2 separate regions of the Homo sapiens genome follow, and region 1 is linked to region 2. Evidence: promoter capture Hi-C in 16 types of primary human blood cells and fetal thymus (Javierre and others, 2016). All regions are on one chromosome and are shown on one strand. Each heading gives the region's core, a stretch centred on a gene start or on the middle of the fragment in contact. The rest is flanking DNA. Distances are from core to core; before and after follow the strand shown.

Region 1 (3,805 bases), core at 96-2,595, 2.1 Mb after region 2:
AAGTGATCCTCCCGCCTTGGCCTCCCAAAGCACTGACATTCCAGGTGTGAGCCACTGTGCCTGGCCTATCTTTTCCATTACATACTGAAAGATGTTTCTTGGAGATGTTTTCCTCTCTGAAATTCCTTCGTGATCTCTAATTACAACAACTCTGGTTCCAAGTCATTCCCAGTAGCAAGCTTCACTTATGTATTATCAAACTTTATAGTAACAGTATATTATGTAAAATAAATTCCAGTATTAACTTTCAGTAATTACCCTAGATTCTCAATGTCAAACAACCTAAAACCAACTCTTCCCATAATTAAAAAGCTCTATCTTCCCTAGTGTGGTAACCTCATTTCCCCATAAAGATTCAGAACACAAAGATCATCCTTTCAGAGAAAATAATGCTCCTAGTACCTGTAGAGGTTAATATCCGCAAATGACTTGCTATTATTGATGGCAAATACACAGAGGAAGCCTTCGCCTGTCCTCATGTATTGGTCTCTCATGGCACTGTACTCTTCTTGTCCAGCTGTATCCAGTATGTCCAACAAACAGGTTTCACCATCTATAACCACTTGTTTTCTGTAAGAATCCTGGGGGTGTGGAGGGTAAGGGGGCAGGGAGGGAGGGAAGTTCAATTTTTATTAAAAACCACAGGGAATGCAATGCTATTGCCAAGGTTAAATAAGCATCTAACTATTCAAGCCCATTTCTGCCTATCTGGTTTGTCCCTCAAATTGCTAATATATAATCACAAACAAAAAGTATCCAATATCACCCTACATAAAAGAAAACCCACCAAATTCTATATGCCTGCAGAAAAGAAATATGGTCACTGTGTTCCTGGAAAAGATTAAGAAAACACAGTAACTCAAATGACAACTCTACTGCAGCCAGGAGGCTACAGATTAAGTACCCAGTGTATTTCACTAAGCTATGAACTGGACTGTTTTATTTGTGCTGTTTATTTTACTTAAAGAAATCTAAACATACCTCCACCAATTATAACCTGGCCCTATATACATCATTTGTGTTTATGACTAAATATACAAATACCTTTGTTTCAGAGAAGGTTTTTTTTTTATCATGACAGATGTACCTTTGGGAAATATTCCTGAATCAAATTCTTAAAGGTTCCAAACAAGGTATAGTTATGTTTAATTTCTCAGGAAGACAAACATGCATAGATCATATAAAAAATACTTTCATTTTGGTTTTATGGCAACAGGACTTTTACTTGTATTTTAATGTCATCACACTTGGAGAACTCTCTGGAGTACTGGAAGTGCTCTATACTGTTATCTGGGTGGTAGCTACATGACTATATAGAAACGCAAAAAGCACTGGGCTGTAGACATAAAATTTATGTATTTTACTTATGTAAATTGCTCAATAAATCAAACATTTAAAAATATTTAATTAAAATATTAAACATTTCATGTAAAATATTAAAGCTGTTAAGCTCAAAATAAAGATTTTGCCAAGGGTTAGCAACCAATTTTTTATAGTGGCTACATTAGAGTTAGTTTTCATCAATTAAACACGAGTAGCCAGATGGTAGGGAGGCCAGGTGTTGATTAAAATAATCTCTAAAGTTAGGCATTTCTAAACTGAACAAAATTACAAAACCCTTTATTTATTTATCTATTTATTTATTTTTTGAGACGAAGTCTCGCTCTGTTGCCCAGGCTGGAGGTCTGTGGTGTGATCTCGGCTCACTGCACCCTCTGCCTCTGGTTCAAGCGATTCTCCTGCCTCAGCCTCCTGAGTAGCTGGGATTACAGGTGCCTGCCACCACACCCAGCTAATTTTTGTATTTTTAGTAGAGACGGGGTTTCACCATGTTGATCAGGCTGGTCTTGAACTCCTGACCTTGTGATCCGCCTGCCTCAGCCTCCCAAAGTGCTGGGATTACAGGCGTGAGCCACCGTGTCCGGCAAAACCCTTTATTTAAAGAGCCTTAGGTGCCACTTACTGAAGACAATCTGTACCATGAACTCTCATAATAACAATAGAATCCCTAAGTACTATTACATAGTGCTTTACCATTCATAAATAACTTAAATATATTATTTAACTTTCCATAACATCCCTGTGTGGTAGGCAGGACAAGTTTATGGTAATTTAAAACATGAGGAAAATGAGGTTGGGAGAGATTCAGTTGCTCAATATCACACAACTAAATAAACTGCAAACAGGGACCAAAATCCTAGGCATAAAGACTAAAAATCTCAAGTTCTTGCTACTCCAATCATCTGGTCTCAGCTGCTTCAACTAGCTAATAAATAAATATTGAAGAACACTCATCTCTGAATCCTTTATCTCCATCCTATTATCTCCCATACAATCAGACAGTCTCGCTACTATGGCCTGTGTTTCTCATGTAATAGAGCTGTTATATATGAAGAAACTCATGAATGAACTCAACACTGAGTTTGCAATAGTTTACAGAACTGTTAAAAACTGGACAGGTTTTAGAAACTTCAGCAGCTAATAAAAATGAACTGTTCTCTATAAACACGTTAAGCTTATTGCATAACTGAATGTATACCCAAAATAACTTTTTACTTTCTCTCCTCTTATTCCTTTAATACAGAATATGGGTAAAGATGATCCGACAAGTGAGAGACAGGATCAGGTCAGCGGGCTACCACTGGGCCTCACCTCTATGGTGGGATCATATTCATCTACAAAGTGGTTCTGGATTAGCTGGATTGTCAGTGCGCTTTTCCCAACACCACCTGCTCCAACCACCACCAGTTTGTACTCAGTCATTTCACACCAGCAAGAACCTGTTGGAAACCAGTAATCAGGGTTAATTGGCGAGCCACATCTACAGTACTTTAAAGCTTTCTATAATCAATGGAAATGAAAACCCTAGTGTGACCTTCCATTTGGTTCTTAAAGTGACTAGAGAACGCAAAAACACCGGATTAATATCGGCCTCACACTTCTGGAGTAGTTTTCTAGCAACCCCCATCCTTAGCTATTTTTCAACAGTCCTTGGGCCCCGCCCTCAGCCTAAGCAATGGAAATCCCCCTTCCTATTACTCCCCGAAGGCTTCTCAGCTCTAGCAGGAAGCCTCCAGGCCGCAACTCCTTCCCATTCTCCCTTCTGTCTCCAAAGATCTCCCCACGTAGGCACCAAATGGAAGGACCCCCGCCCAAGGCCTTTGTCTCCAGCTGATAGATTCTGCTCCATTTCTGGCATCAGTGAAACGCCTGAACATTCCACAGCCCAAAGCCGAACACTATGCATGAGATAAACTTACCTCAAGCTCCACTGCCTCTGCTTTGGACAGATTTAGGACCACAGCCGGGAAAAATGTTGGAGACCCCGGAACCGCCATGAACAGCCCCCACCAAGGAGCGGCACTTCCGGCCCCGCCCGCTACGTAATCAGTCGGCGCCCCAGGCGCCTGAGTCCCCGCCCCGGCCACGTGGGCCTCCGAACCACGAGTCATGCGGCAGGCCGCACCCAGACCCGCCCCTCCCACACGGGACGTTTCAATAATGAAAGCGCTAGGTGCTAGTGTCTCAAAAATCAGTAAAACTTTATTCGCTTCCATTCTTTCGCCATTAACAGAAAACTGGAGAAAGCAAAAATGTTTCGTGTTTACAAAGATAAACGGCCTCTTTACCCAGAGATCAAAACCTCAAACGACAAGGGGGAAGATAAAACCGCCCTCCCCCACATCCCCTGAGCTGACCCTTGTCATCTTAGACAAAGCCTTCAGTCCACTGGCCAGGGACCCTGTATATGGCCAATTCAAGAAGAGGGCCAAGAAATCAGACCCATCCATTCCCGTGATATAAA
Region 2 (3,871 bases), core at 722-3,221:
AATAAAAAGATAAATATGCTTTTACAAAGGAGGTTCAAAACTACTCCATATTTATTTTGGTAGGATACAAAACCACTGTCTCAAATTAGAGGGAAGGAAACAGCATATGTATTTGGTATATCAGCTAGAGAGGCAAAATGGCTCAAAGAGAAAAGCAACAAACAGAAATCTCCCTGAGTTACTGAAATCCTGGAGCAGATTTTTCACTTCAAATAATTATCTCATAAGTACTGTGGGTTTTAGAAAGAAAATAAAAATCTGGCCAGGTAGGATGGCTCACTCCCATAATCTCAGAGTTTTGGGAGGCCAAGGCAGGAGGATCACTGGTAGCCAGAAGTTCAAGACCAGCCTGGGCAAATAAAATAGACCCAGTCTCTACGCAAAATTTAAAACTCAGCCAGTCGTGGTGGTGCACGCCTGCAGTCCCAGCTACTTGGGAGGCTGAGGCCAGAGGATCGCTTAAGCAGAAGAGTTCAAGGCTGCAGTGATCTTGCCACTACACTTCAGCCTGGGTGACAAAGGGAGACTCTGTCTGTCTTTCTCTCTCTCACACACACACACACACACACACACACACACACACACACGAAACGTAAAAAAGAAAAATCTATAGTAATCAACTATTCTCATCTAAATGTTGCATATGGTTAACGTAGAAAAATAAATGACAAGTCAATCAGTAACACTGTGCATAGAAACCACCGTTAAGCACTTCATTCACCTGTTACAGAGATGCCAAATTAGCTCTTCAGTTTAGCTTATTTTAGAGTGCTAGTTATATTTGAACTTGATACCTATCCTCCAAAAAAACCAAAATATTTCCGAACATTAACTCACAGTCTTTCATGTCATCTCTGAACAGGAAAGGGGACATTTGCTGCCTTTTGCTTCAGAAAAATCAACCACCATACTGAATCATGTAATGGAAATACTTATATCTTGTTCTGAGGTTGCTGCTCAGATCTTGAGTGAAATATAATCACATGGTAAGGGGACCTGGGCCCTAAACACTTCATCCTGTCTACAGCTAAAGAATAGTACAGTATATGAGAATCCATCAGGATCATCACTTCTTACATGTGTTCGTATTGTCAGCACAGAATACGTAGCAAGTGTTCTACAGACGTCGAAAGAACTAGCAAACCCACTGTTGTTTGTGGCGCTCTCACTTCCTGTACTATTTTATTACTCAAGATAAGCCTAAAAGAACAGACAAAACTATCACGAAAACGATTTCTTAACAGAACTATTTTAAAACAAGAGAATCCTCAATTAAAATCATGCCATTTTCTTTCTCTGAAATCTTTAAATTACAGATGTGCTCATCTTTGTTGCCTGGATATGAGTTCTTTCAGCTGGGCAGCGGGAGACTCAAAGTAGTGACTTTTAAGGGATCCTACCAGAGGTGGGGGAGCCAATATAAATTACGTATCCTAATCTGAGACACTCTTCTGTCCTAATACCTGAAGCTTATAGCTTGTCAGGTGGCTTTTCCATGGAAAAACGAGGACATAAGAGAGAGGGCGGACCTTAAGAGTTCTACGGAGGAGCCGGTAACGGCAGCAGGCTTGTCAATCAACTGCAAGGTTGCAGCCCAAAAGAAAAAGAACTCACTTGATCGCTCATCATCGACTCCTCAGAGGCCCTCTAGGACTACCGAGAATCTCTTGCCCTTTGGCTCTTGCCCCCGACATCTCTCCTGGCCCCCCGCCCTGCCCCAGGAGGTCTGGTCCTCTCACCCGCTGCCAAATTCTCACACAGCCTCAAAGGGATCCTCAGGGCGTAAAGCAGCCCCAGCCCCGCCACGAACCACAACGAGGCCCCAGTCCCCGCCAGCCCGGCCCGCAGTCGCTCCCTCCAGCCTAGCGTCGGGTTTAGGCCAGGGACAGATGCAGGAGACGCTCCAACAGCTGCGGCTTCACCCACGCCGCCACGGTCCGCCATCTTGCCGCTATCGCAGGCGCCAGGAGCTGGGAGGGGAGAAGGACAGGAAACCGGGAGTCGGGAATCCTGGGATAGTGGCGGACCTGAAGTTGGCCTCTGTGAAGGCTGAGTCCTGGGGAACCGGGACCGAGAAGATTTCGAAGGTGGAGGAGCGTGTCTCAAGATTGGGGCTACCTGTTCTTTCGTGGGGCAGGGAAGGGGCGGACAGCAGCGCCTATTCTGGAGGAACTGGACTGAGATGTGACCCCGAAGTGTTACCGCTTCCAAACGAAATGAGGGTCACCTTTCACACCGCCCCCCCCCCGGGGTTGGAAAAGCCACCGATCGTTCCAGCTGCCGAGCAGCTCTTAAAGCTTTGGATTCGGCTGTCGTGGAGATAACGGGCACCAGAAAAACTTGTAGGAGTAGCAACAGCTATTTGGTCGGATGGAGGCCAGAAGCCAAGAATAATCGAAACACGCTGCCAGCGCCCATTAGATGGATGGGAAATGAGTGTAACTCATTGGGAAAGATATTAGACTTCAAATCACCTAAGGCAAACCCTACTTCCTGGGGCGCGGGCGCGGGCGCTGGCGTTAGGAGACGTCACTCCCGCGCATAACTGACATGGGGCCCTCTTGGTCGGCGTTTCCGGGCGGGTCCTTCCGACGGCCGCCGCGGTGATTCCATCACTCGGCTTTCTTCCCGGCCTGCCTCGCGCCCGTAGCCGGGCTGGGCCAGAACAGCCCAAGATGGCCGACTTCGATGATCGTGTGTCGGATGAGGAGAAGGTAAGGGGTCCGCCTCTCTCTCTTACCTCCTCCCCCGACAGGGAACTGGGGCCCGGCCCGGCTGCGTTGGGAGCCTAGCAGTGTCCCCAGGAAAAAGAAGCTTCTTGGTCCATGCTGACATACGCTCTCCGCAGTCGGGACGCTTCCCTCTTAGGGGGCTTTCCTCTGCCTCACGGTGGCCCCAGTTCCTCGTTCCTCGACTCTCCTTTTCTCTCAGGCCTGAGGCACAGCCCAGGGGCCTCCCTGCAAGGGAACAGACGTTTCCTTTATTGGATCGTGACTGTGGACTTTTTTCTGTAATTTTGCGAGAGGGTGGTGGTTATGTTGCGACATATCAAAAAGCAGTTATTTTACCGCCTTTAGCAGTTGGGGCTCACCCCATCCCCCCATTTGTAGATATAATTGGGGTTAGTTTAGGGCGAGTCACTTCCTGGTCAGGATGGCCTCTTAACTTCCCTTTTGCTCCTCCTTCCTCAGGAAGTGATTTTGCTGTCACGACTCTTCGACAAGGAGAGGTCCCAAATGTTGTCCATCTCCCTACACATGCACTACTTTTCTCCTGTACTGTCGCCTGTCTGATTCGCTATAATAAATCTGTGAGCCTCAGGGCATTTGCTTCAGAATTTGAACACCAGTCTTTCCCTATAGACACATCCCTTTTAACGATAATTTTTGAAAATTTTGTTTCTTGTTAACAAATCTAGAATAGCTGATGGATTTTCTTAACCTCCAGAAAGGTTTTCTGTAACACATAATAAACCTTATGTTAACACGTTCAAGACTGAACAAAGCATCCTGCCTTCTTTGATGCTCCACTGTGGAGTCTTTGATCAGTTGAATTTGTCAGTGTGCATTTTGTATGCTCATTTCTTGAAAAGGGTCTTAAATACAAGAGCACATTCTAAGGTGGAATAACTTTTCTTCTGACAGTTGCACAGTTTCATAACAGTTTGTCAGGCTTTTCAGTAAGTACATGGTTTTAGGGCACGTAGAACTTAGAATGACCTCACAAGGCAACTTATTGGACAAGAATTATGACATTTGTCTCCCACTGTGGCTATTAGAAAATGTGTCCCCTTGAGTGCTCTGTAAATCTACCTGGGTGTTTTTTTCAATAAGAAGTTGGGATGGGAAGGGGACTGTTATGATCCATAAGT

The links. Contacts are between HindIII fragments. The CHiCAGO score rates a contact against its expected background, and 5 or more counts as called.
Region 1: a fragment that was not itself captured here is called in contact with the fragment with the promoter of ST7L in region 2 in 1 of 17 cell types (fetal thymus); the score reaches 5.2 in fetal thymus.

The regions. Positions count from the first base shown.
Region 1 is chr1:114,713,398-114,717,202 of GRCh38, forward strand. It overlaps NRAS (NRAS proto-oncogene, GTPase), which reads right to left and starts at 3,374. Exons shown (of 7, transcript NM_002524.5): 1 at 3,261-3,374; 2 at 2,653-2,780; 3 at 403-581. The coding sequence starts at 2,763. CSDE1 (cold shock domain containing E1) reads right to left here. Exons shown (of 20, transcript NM_001007553.3): 20 at 3,519-3,805. RefSeq lists enhancers at 3,070-3,169, 3,180-3,379. The HindIII fragment of the contact is 2,336 bases long and covers 178-2,513 here.
Region 2 is chr1:112,617,170-112,621,040 of GRCh38, forward strand. ST7L (suppression of tumorigenicity 7 like) reads right to left here and starts at 1,972. Exons shown (of 15, transcript NM_017744.5): 1 at 1,740-1,972. The coding sequence starts at 1,944. CAPZA1 (capping actin protein of muscle Z-line subunit alpha 1) reads left to right here and starts at 2,663. Exons shown (of 10, transcript NM_006135.3): 1 at 2,663-2,714. The coding sequence starts at 2,676. RefSeq lists enhancers at 1,936-2,035, 2,144-3,343, 2,496-2,945. The HindIII fragment of the contact is 828 bases long and covers 1,468-2,295 here.